Linked DNA regions of Homo sapiens: region 1 is linked to region 2. The links are contacts of gene promoters, found by promoter capture Hi-C in blood cells and fetal thymus (Javierre and others, 2016). All regions are on one chromosome and are shown on one strand. The core of a region is centred on a gene start or on the middle of the fragment in contact, and the rest is flanking DNA. Distances in the headings are between cores, read along the strand shown.

What was found. Contacts are between HindIII fragments. The CHiCAGO score rates a contact against its expected background, and 5 or more counts as called.
Region 1: a contact is called between a fragment that was not itself captured here and the fragment with the promoter of SPMIP11 in region 2, in 1 of 17 cell types (megakaryocytes). The highest score is 5.3, in megakaryocytes.

The regions. Positions count from the first base shown.
Region 1 is chr12:48,796,765-48,801,505 of GRCh38, reverse strand. It overlaps the pseudogene ADISSPP1. Among named protein-coding and RNA genes, the nearest start is that of ADCY6-DT, 10 kb to the right of the region's middle. RefSeq lists an enhancer at 1-331. The HindIII fragment of the contact is 4,501 bases long and covers 687-4,741 here.
Region 2 is chr12:48,724,810-48,729,102 of GRCh38, reverse strand. It overlaps SPMIP11 (sperm microtubule inner protein 11), which reads right to left and starts at 1,668. Exons shown (of 4, transcript NM_001351123.2): 1 at 1,544-1,668. The coding sequence starts at 1,622. The HindIII fragment of the contact is 5,202 bases long and covers 1-1,857 here.

The DNA of each region.
Region 1 (4,741 bases), core at 1,688-4,187, 71 kb before region 2:
AAGAGGAGAGGCCCAGAAAGGAAAAGCTGTGATTGTTCATGTTTTTCCTGGGGACATGACTGCATGACGTGACTAGGCAATTCCTGCTCCTTGCTGCAAAGGCAGTGAGCCTTGGATCCAGTCTGAAGCAAGCCCAGTAGTAATTGAAAATCTTCCTCTTCTTCGCTTCTCTTTTCCCAAGCTCCAGTCCTAAACTAAGGACTGAGTTCCAACTGACTGAAAACCAAATTAAAAGAGGAGCCTTGCTCCCTTCCTTGTGCTCAGCGTTGAGACCCTGCCACCGCCTCAGCGGTCGTCCCTGCCCTGTCCGCCCCGGGCTGCACCCTGCAAGGCTCCTGCTGTTGTCCCCGGAGCATGGGAGGCTGCTGGGCATGAGTGGCTTGGTCCTGCGGAAGCTGCGTGGCAGGGAGGGGGTCCATGGCTGCAACCAACAAAGGCAGCAAGCCCAGATTCCGGAGTATCCACTTTGTGACAGGCCACGATGCAGAGGGCTCCCAAAGCCACGTCCACTTTGATGAGAAGTTGCAGGACTCGGTGGTCATGGTCATCCAGGAGAGGGACAGCAGCTTTCTGGTCAAGGTTCCTGAAGATCCTGCACAGGTATGAGATTACCTTTGCTCCGTCCCAGTGCACAGGCTGAGCAAGGACGTCCGCCAGGCACTTGTCCCCAGCCTGCACCTGAAGCTTCTCAGCGTCCTACCCTTCCCTGAAGGTTATAGTGTCAAGTGCGAGTACTAGGCGCACAAAGAAGGGGTCCTCAAAGAGGGGATGCTACTAGTCTGGGAAGGTGGCACCAGCACCTGCGTGCGCGGAAGGTGCAAGCCTGCATCATGGGCTGACGCCATGGCACATGCATGCTGCTGGACGGTGTCAAATGCATGGGTGCCAAGCTGGAATACTACTCGGAGCACAGCGACTGGCACGGCTTTGACTGAGGCCCGAGGTCCTGCCTGCCCTGGGCTGCCCTGCCTGCCCTGGGCTGCTCAGCCTTAAACCCTGCCTTGTTCCCCCATACCCGACATGCTGCCTGATGGTGTGGCTTCCTTGCCCCTCTCCAGGGTGGGTGGGATGGAGTGGCCTTGCCCACGCCTGTCACCTCTGCCTTCATTCAAGCCACCACCCTGCCTCTCCTGCATCCTCCTCTTCCACTTCCTCCTCTCCGTGTGCCTCAGTCTCCTGCCAGAAGAAATGGCTTGAGCCCTCAAGGAGGCTGTCTGAGGAAGGAAGGGGAGGGCCTGGGGTGGGTACTCCCACTCCCCACCCCAAGCCATAGGGGCTCCAGCCAGGGTCTGGGAGAGGACGGAGCTGGTTCTCTGAGGTCGTGGCCCCGTTACCTCTGCTGCTGCCTTGCTTCAGCCGCCTCTCCTGCCCCTCCCTCGTTCGCACTGCTGTCCTCCATGAGTAGCAGGGAGGTGCAGTCCCCAGCTCCTACCCCTCAGGTCTGTGTTACTTGATTTTTAAGCGAGTGGTTGGGATAGAATCCTAAAGAAATAAAACTTCCAGTGTGGGGGCGGGGTGGGGGGGAGACGACCCTTGTCCCCAGTGTTACTCCCAAACATTTGTGTGATATGCCGGCAAGGATCAGGGAGATAACCGATTTCAGTTATCTGCACTCACATACAGGCCCTTTGAGGCTTGTGAGATGAGAAAGTTTGATATTGTTAATCTTTTCAGTCTCTCTCACCTCTTACACACATATACAGAGCTGGCTTCCTGGACCACTTCTGGAAAGAGCAAAATCTACTTTTTCCATGGCAACTATTTAGCCAAGGAGACTGGGAGTAAAAGGGAGGATGTCCCTATGACCCTCTCCTTACTACTCTAAAATATCTTTTTTTTTTCTTTTGAGGTGGAGTCTTGCGCTGTTGCCCAGTCTGGAGTGCAGTGGCGTGATCTCGGCTCACTACATCTTCCGTCTCCTGGGTTCAAGCGATTCTCGTGCCTCAGCCTCCTGAGTAGCTGGGGTTACAGGTGTGTACCACCACACCCAGCTAATTTTTGTATTTTTAGTAGAGACGGAGTTTCGACATGTTGGCCAGGCTGGTCTTGAACTCCTGCCCTCAAGCCATCCACCCACCTTGGCCTCCCAAAGTGCTGGGATTACAGGTGTGAGCCACCATGCCTGGCCTTTTTTTTTTTTTTTTCTTTTTTGAGTAAAATATCTTAAAGAAAAGTGTGGGCATCATGATAGTCCACCAAGAAATACTTCAGTAGTATCACTCAGAAAGAACATATTTCAACCACCATATGATCTGGCAATCCCACTATTGGGTATATATCTGAAGAAATAAAACCAGTATGTTGAAGAGATATCTGCACTCCCATATTTATTGCAGCTTTATTCACAATAGCCAAGATATAGTAACTGGGCACAGTGGCTCACATCTATAGTCCCAGCTACTCTGGAAAGCTGAGGCAGGAGGATTGCTTGAGTCCAGGAGTTGGAAGCTGCAGGGCACTATGATCATGCCTGTGAATAGCCACTGCCCTCCAGCCTGGGCAACAAAGCAAGATCTGTCCTTATTAAAAAAAAAAAAAAAAAAAAAAAAAAAAAAAAAAAAAGGCCAGGCGCAGTGGCTCATGCCTGTAATCCCAACACTTTGGGAGGCCAAGACAGGCAGATCACAAGGCCAGGAGTTCAAGACCAGCTTGACCAATATGGTGAAACCTCGTCTCTACTAAAAATACAAAAATTAGCCTGGCGTGGTGGCGAGCGCCTAGCTACTCACGAGCCTGAGGCAGGAGAATTGCTTGAACCCAGGAGGCAGAGGTTGCAGTGAGCCAAGGTTGTGCCACTGCACTCCAGCCTGGGCGACAGAGCGAGACTCCGTCTCAGAAAAAAAAAACAAAAAAAACAAAAAACAACACACACAATAGCCAAGATATGGAATCACCCTGAGTGTCCATCAACAGAAAAATGGATAAAGAAAATGCAGTATACAGTATATATATTATGTAATAATATTCAGCCATAAAAAAGAATGAAATTTTGCAATTTATGGCAATATGGATGAACCTGGAGGATATTATGCTAAGTGAAATGAGCCCAGCACAGAAAGACAAATGCCATGTGATCTCTTTTTTTTTTTGAGACGGAATCTCTCTGTCACCTAGGCTGGAGTGCAATGGTGTGGTCTTGGCTCACTGCAACCTCCACCTCCTGGGTTCAAATGATTCTCCTGCCTCAGCCTCCCAAGCAGCTGGTACTACAGGTGCATGCCACCACACCCGGCTAATTTTTGTATTTTTAGTAGAGACGGGGTTTCACTGTGTTGGCCAGGCTGGTCTCGAACTCCTGACCTCATGATCCGCCCGCCTTAGCCTCCCAAAGTGCTGGGATTACAGGCATGAGCTATTGCACCTGGCCATGATCTCATTTATACGTGGAATCTTAGAAAGTTGAACTTGTAGAAAAAGTAGAATGGCAGTTACCGGAGGCTGGGGAGTGGGAGGATTGGGCCGAAATGAAGTTGGCCAAAGGATACAAAATCTGTTAGATGAGAGGAATAAGTTCAAGACATCTATTGCACAACGTGGTGAATAGAGTTAATAGCAATGCATCTTATACTTGAAATTGCTAAAAGAGTAGATTTTAGGTGTTCTCACCACCAAAAAAAAAAGATAAGCATGTGAAGTGATGCATATGTTAATTAGCTTGATTTAACCATTTCACAATGTATACATATTTCAAAACATGTTGTACACAATTTACGTACATATATATAATTTTTATTTGTCAATTTAAATAAATAAATAAATGTTAAAATTAGGGGGAATTTCTTAGTGTCAAAATAACATTACCCGGCCGGGCACGGTGGCTCACGCCTGTAATCCCAGCACTTTGGGAGGCCCAGGCGGGCGGATCATGCGGTCAGGAATTCAAGAACAGCCTGACCAACATGGTGAAACCCTGTCTCTACTAAAAATACAAAAATTAGCCGGTCTTGGTGGCACGCGCCTGTAATCCCAGCTACTCAGGAGGCCGAGGCAGGAGAATCACTTGAACCCGGGAGATGGAGGTTGCAGCGAACCTGAGATCCTGCCACTGAACTTCAGCTGGGTGACAGTGCGAGACTCCGTCTCAAAAAAAAATAAAAAAATAAAAAAATAACATTACCCTTCCCTAACACAATTAAACATAATTCCATCTAATATCCAGCACACTTTCAAGTTTCATCATTTGTAAGAGGGGTTAACTTTGATGGGTTTGGGTGGGGGAAGAATTTAAAAAGCCCTCAAGAAGGAAGTGGCATTTTGAGGAGTCCTTGAAAGATGACTAACAGCTACCACATTGTGACAGGCAAACCTGAGATGGCCACAAATGATCCCCACGTCTTGGTATTCATGCCCTTGAGTAATCCCCTCCCCTTGACTGTGGGCTGGCCTAGAGACTTACTTCTGATCCATCAGAAGGTGATGGACGGCACTTCTATAATGAGGCTATAAGAGACCATTGACTTCTGTTTGCTAGCGGAATCTCTTCTTGCTGGCTTGGATGAAGACATGCTGCCATGTGGCAGAGGCCTAAGGGAAAGGTGCCTGAGGCCCTCAGTCCAGCAGCCCAGCCCATATGGAACTGAATCCTATCAACGACCACATGAGCTTGGAATTGGATCCTTCCTTATTCCAACCATAGATGAGACTGAAGCCTCAGCTAACATCTTGCTTGTAGCTTTGTGAGACCTTGAAGTAGAGGACCCCACTGAGCTATGCTCAGTCTCCTGATAGGCAGAAACTATGA
Region 2 (4,293 bases), core at 419-2,918:
ATGTAAATCAATTGTCATATCTCCTGTAAAGCCTCCCCTAGCTTCCTGTTTTACAGTTATTCAAACTTAGTTATTCATCCATTCACCCTACAAATATTTATGCAACCTCTATTATGTGTGAGGCATGGCTAGGCATTTTGAATCTAATGTAGATCTGCTCACTGCCTACTAAAAATTCAATGGCTGTCTATAAAGTTAAAATGCTTAGCATGGCTAACAGCATCCTCAATTATCTGGCCCCTTCCTAGTTTTCAACGTCTGCCTCCCAGCACCTCTCCACTTTACCCTTTATGTGTACCCACGAACTTGGAATTCACTTAATATGGTTCTCTCTTAGGTCTCTGTTCCTTTGTCTGTGCTATATCCCCTTCTTTTTTTTTTTTTTTTTTTTTTTTGAGACAGAGTCTCGCTCTGTCGCCCAGGCTGGAGTGCAGTGGCTCGATTTCAGCTCACTGCAAGCTCCGCCTCCCGGGTTCACACCATTCTCCTGCCTCAGCCTCCCAAGTAGCTGGGACTACAGGCGCCCGCCATCACGCTCGGCTAATTGTTTGTATTTTTAGTAGAGACGGGGTTTCACCGTGTTAGCCAGGATGGTCTTGATCTCCTGACCTCGTGATCCGCCCGCCTCGGCCTCCCAAAGTGTTGGGATTACAGGCGTGAGCCACCGCACCCGGCCATCCCCTTTTTAGTGAACGCCAATCATCCTTTAACACCCAGTTCTGGAAGCATTTCCTGTGTGAAGTCTTCTCTGAAGGATTCCCCCATCCTCCACTCCCCCGTTCTTATTCCAAATCCAATAGTATCAGGTACTTCCTTCTTAGTGGCTCTAGAACATTCCATATTTAATGTAATCATACAATATATTGCAATTTTTGTTTGCACACTTATCTTTCTCATCAGATAGTCACTTTATAGCAGAGGTCTTAACCCTAGTCACCAACATAATGCCAGGCACATAAAGCCTGGTGCTTAACAAATGTTGGTTAAATGAGCCAACGAATGACTAAGAATACACTTATTTGGTTGAACAAATTGTGTGTCTTTTTTTTTTTTTGAGATGGTTTCGCTCTGTCGCCCAGGCTGGAGTACGGTGGTGTGATCATGGCTCACTTCATCCTTGACCTCCTGGGCTCAAGTGATTCTCCCACTTCAGCCTCCCAAGTAGCTAGGACCACAGGCATGCACCACCACACCCAGCTAATTTGTGTAACTTTTCATAGAGATGTGGTCTTACTATGTTGCCCAGGCTGGTCTTGAACTCCTGGACTCAAGCAATCCTCCTGCCTTAGCCTCCCAAACTGCTGGAATTGCATGTGAGCTACTGCACCTGGCCCAAATTGTGTGTCTTAATAAGGATATTAAATGACAGGAGAGCAAAGCTGAAAGGATATTGTCCCTATTCCACAATTTTAACTAGTGTAACTGTTGGCCTTGGAGGATAAATCTCTAACCCCAGGTAGGAAAATAAATAGCTAGGAAGTGGCTATGAAGCATCTAGGTAAAGAAGTGGCCCTTCTAACCCTCTACCCTATATTCCCCTTACTTGTTTCTTCAGTTGTGTTCCTTTTCTTGTTCTGAAAGGAATTTTGATATCCCAATAGATACAAGTTGAAGAAGGCCATCTCAGATCCTCCCTGGCCTCTTCTGGAACGTCCAGGTTGGGGCACTGGACTCTGTGCCTGGTAACCATGGTAATGTCCTAAGAATTACCACAACTGACACTCCCTTTGTCTAATGAGGCACAGGATTTATAGGTTCACAGTGGAGCTGGAGTGGGAGTGGGCTAAATAACTTCAGGAAAATGGAGGAATCAATTGTCAGTACACCTTTTCTTGACCTAGTCTTCCAGTGTAAGCTTCAGAAGGCAGTGAGTAGAAAGAGCACCGACCTGGGCTCATATCTTAGTTATGCCATATTCTAGGTGTCTGACTTTGAATAGATTAACTAAGCCTCCATTTTCAATTTTAAATTAAAAAAATGACAATGACAATATCTGACAGTTATGAGAATCAAATGAGATAATATATGCATATTTCCTTAGAACGGTGTTCAACACATAATGGAAACTTAAATTTTTTTTTTTTTTTTTTTTTTAAGAGTCTCCCTCTGTTGCCCAGGCTGGAGCGCAATGGCGCTTTCTCGGCTCACTGCAACCTCTGCCTCCAGGTTTCAAGAGATCCTCATGCCTCAGCCTTCCGAGTAGCTGGGATTACAGGGGCGCGCCACTACACCTGGCTAATTTTTGTATTTTTGGTAGAGACAGGGTTGACCAGCCTGGTCTTGAACTGCTGACCTCAAGTGATCTGCCCTCCTCGGCCTCCCAAAGTGCTGGGATTACAGGTGTGAGCCACCACGCCCCACCAGTATTTAAATGTTAATAGTTATCCAGCCTTATATTCAGGAAAAAAAAGAAATCTGAATAGGATACTTTCAATGAGTCTTTGTTTCAGCAGTGGTGTGCCAATCCATAGTGACTTTTGAAAGCTTGTTAAATTTTCATTGATTTTGTGAATTGGTTGTTAAACAAGGCATTATTAAAAATCAAATTAACTAAACTTACAATTGAATGTTATATTAAAAATAAAGGTAGTACATCGGGTGTGGTGTCTCACACCTGTAATCCCACCACTTTGGGAGGCCGAGACAGATGGATCTCTTGAGCTCACAAGTTTGAAATCAGGCTGGGCACCATGGTGAAACCCTGTCTCTACAAAAAAATAAAACCCACAGAAATTAGTTGGGTGTGGTACGTGACTGTAGTCTCAGCTACTTGGGAGGCTGAGGTGGGAGGATGGCTTGAGCCTGTGTGGTGGAGGTTGCAGTGAGCTGAGATTGTGCCATTGCACTCCAGACTGGCAATAGAGCCAGATCTTGTCATAAAATAAAATAAAAGTAGTAAATACTAACAAGTCATCTCTTCCTGATTATTTTACTCTTATCTATGCTCATGAGTTTATTTACTTCCATTGCATCTGGATATTCCACTCTTTTTTCATTCGTTTTTCTCTTTGTTTTTCCGTTTGGGAAGTTTCCTATTGACATATTTTCAAGCTCACTGATTTTTTTCCTTTGTCATGCCCAGTCTACTGATGAGCCCACCAAAGGCATTCTGCATTTCTGTTACAGTGTTTTTTATTTCTAGCATTTCCTTTTGATTCTTTAGAGTTTTCATCTCTCTGCTTACGTTGCCCTTTGTTCTTGAATGTTGTCCTCTTTTTCCATCCTTTGTTCTTGAATGTTGTCCTCTTTTTCCATTAGTGTCCTTAACATGTTAATAGTTATTTTAAAATCTCAGTCTGATAATTCCAAAATTTCTGCCATATGTGAGTCTGGTTCTGATGCTTGATTTGTCTTTTTTGAGATGGAGTCTCACTCTGTCGCCCAGGCTGGAGTGCAGGGGCACGTTTTCAGCTCACTGCAACCTCCGCCTCCTGGGTTCAAGCAATTCTTCTGCCTCAGCCCCCTGAGTAGCTGGGATTACAGGTGTCTGCCACCTTGCCTAACTAATTTTTTATTTTATTTTTTTATTTTTATTTTTTTATTGATCATTCTTGGGTGTTTCTCGCAGAGGGGGATTTGGCAGGGTCATAGGACAATAGTGGAGGGAAGGTCAGCAGATAAACAAGTGAACAAAGGTCTCTGGTTTTCCTAGGCAGAGGACCCTGCGGCCTTCCTCAGTGTTTGTGTCCCTGGGTACTTGAGATTAGGGAGTGGTGATGACTCTTAACGAGCATGCTGCCTTCAAGCATCTGTTTAACAAAGCACATCTTGTACCGCCCTTAATCCATTTAACCCTGAGTGGACACAGCACATGTTTCAGAGAGCACAGGGTTGGGGGTAAGGTCACAGATCAACAGGATCCCAAGGCAGAAGAATTTTTCTTAGTACAGAACAAAATGAAAAGTCTCCCATGTCTACCTCTTTCTACACAGACATGGCAACCATCCGATTTCTCAATCTTTTCCCCACCTTTCCCCCCTTTCTATTCCACAAAACCGCCATTGTCATCACGGCCCGTTCTCAATGAGCTGTTGGGTACACCTCCCAGATGGGGTGGTGGCCGGGCAGAGGGGCTCCTCACCTCCCAGCAGGGGCGGCCGGGCAGAGGCGCCCCTCACCTCCCGGGTGGGGCGGCTGGCCAGGCGGGGGGCTGACCCCCCCACCTCCCTCCCGGACGGGGCGGCTGGCCTGGTGGGGGCTGACCCCCCACCTCCCTCCCGGACGGGGTGGCTGCCGGGCGGAGACGCTCCTCACTTCCCAGACGGGGTGGCTGCCGGGTGGAGGGGCTCCTCA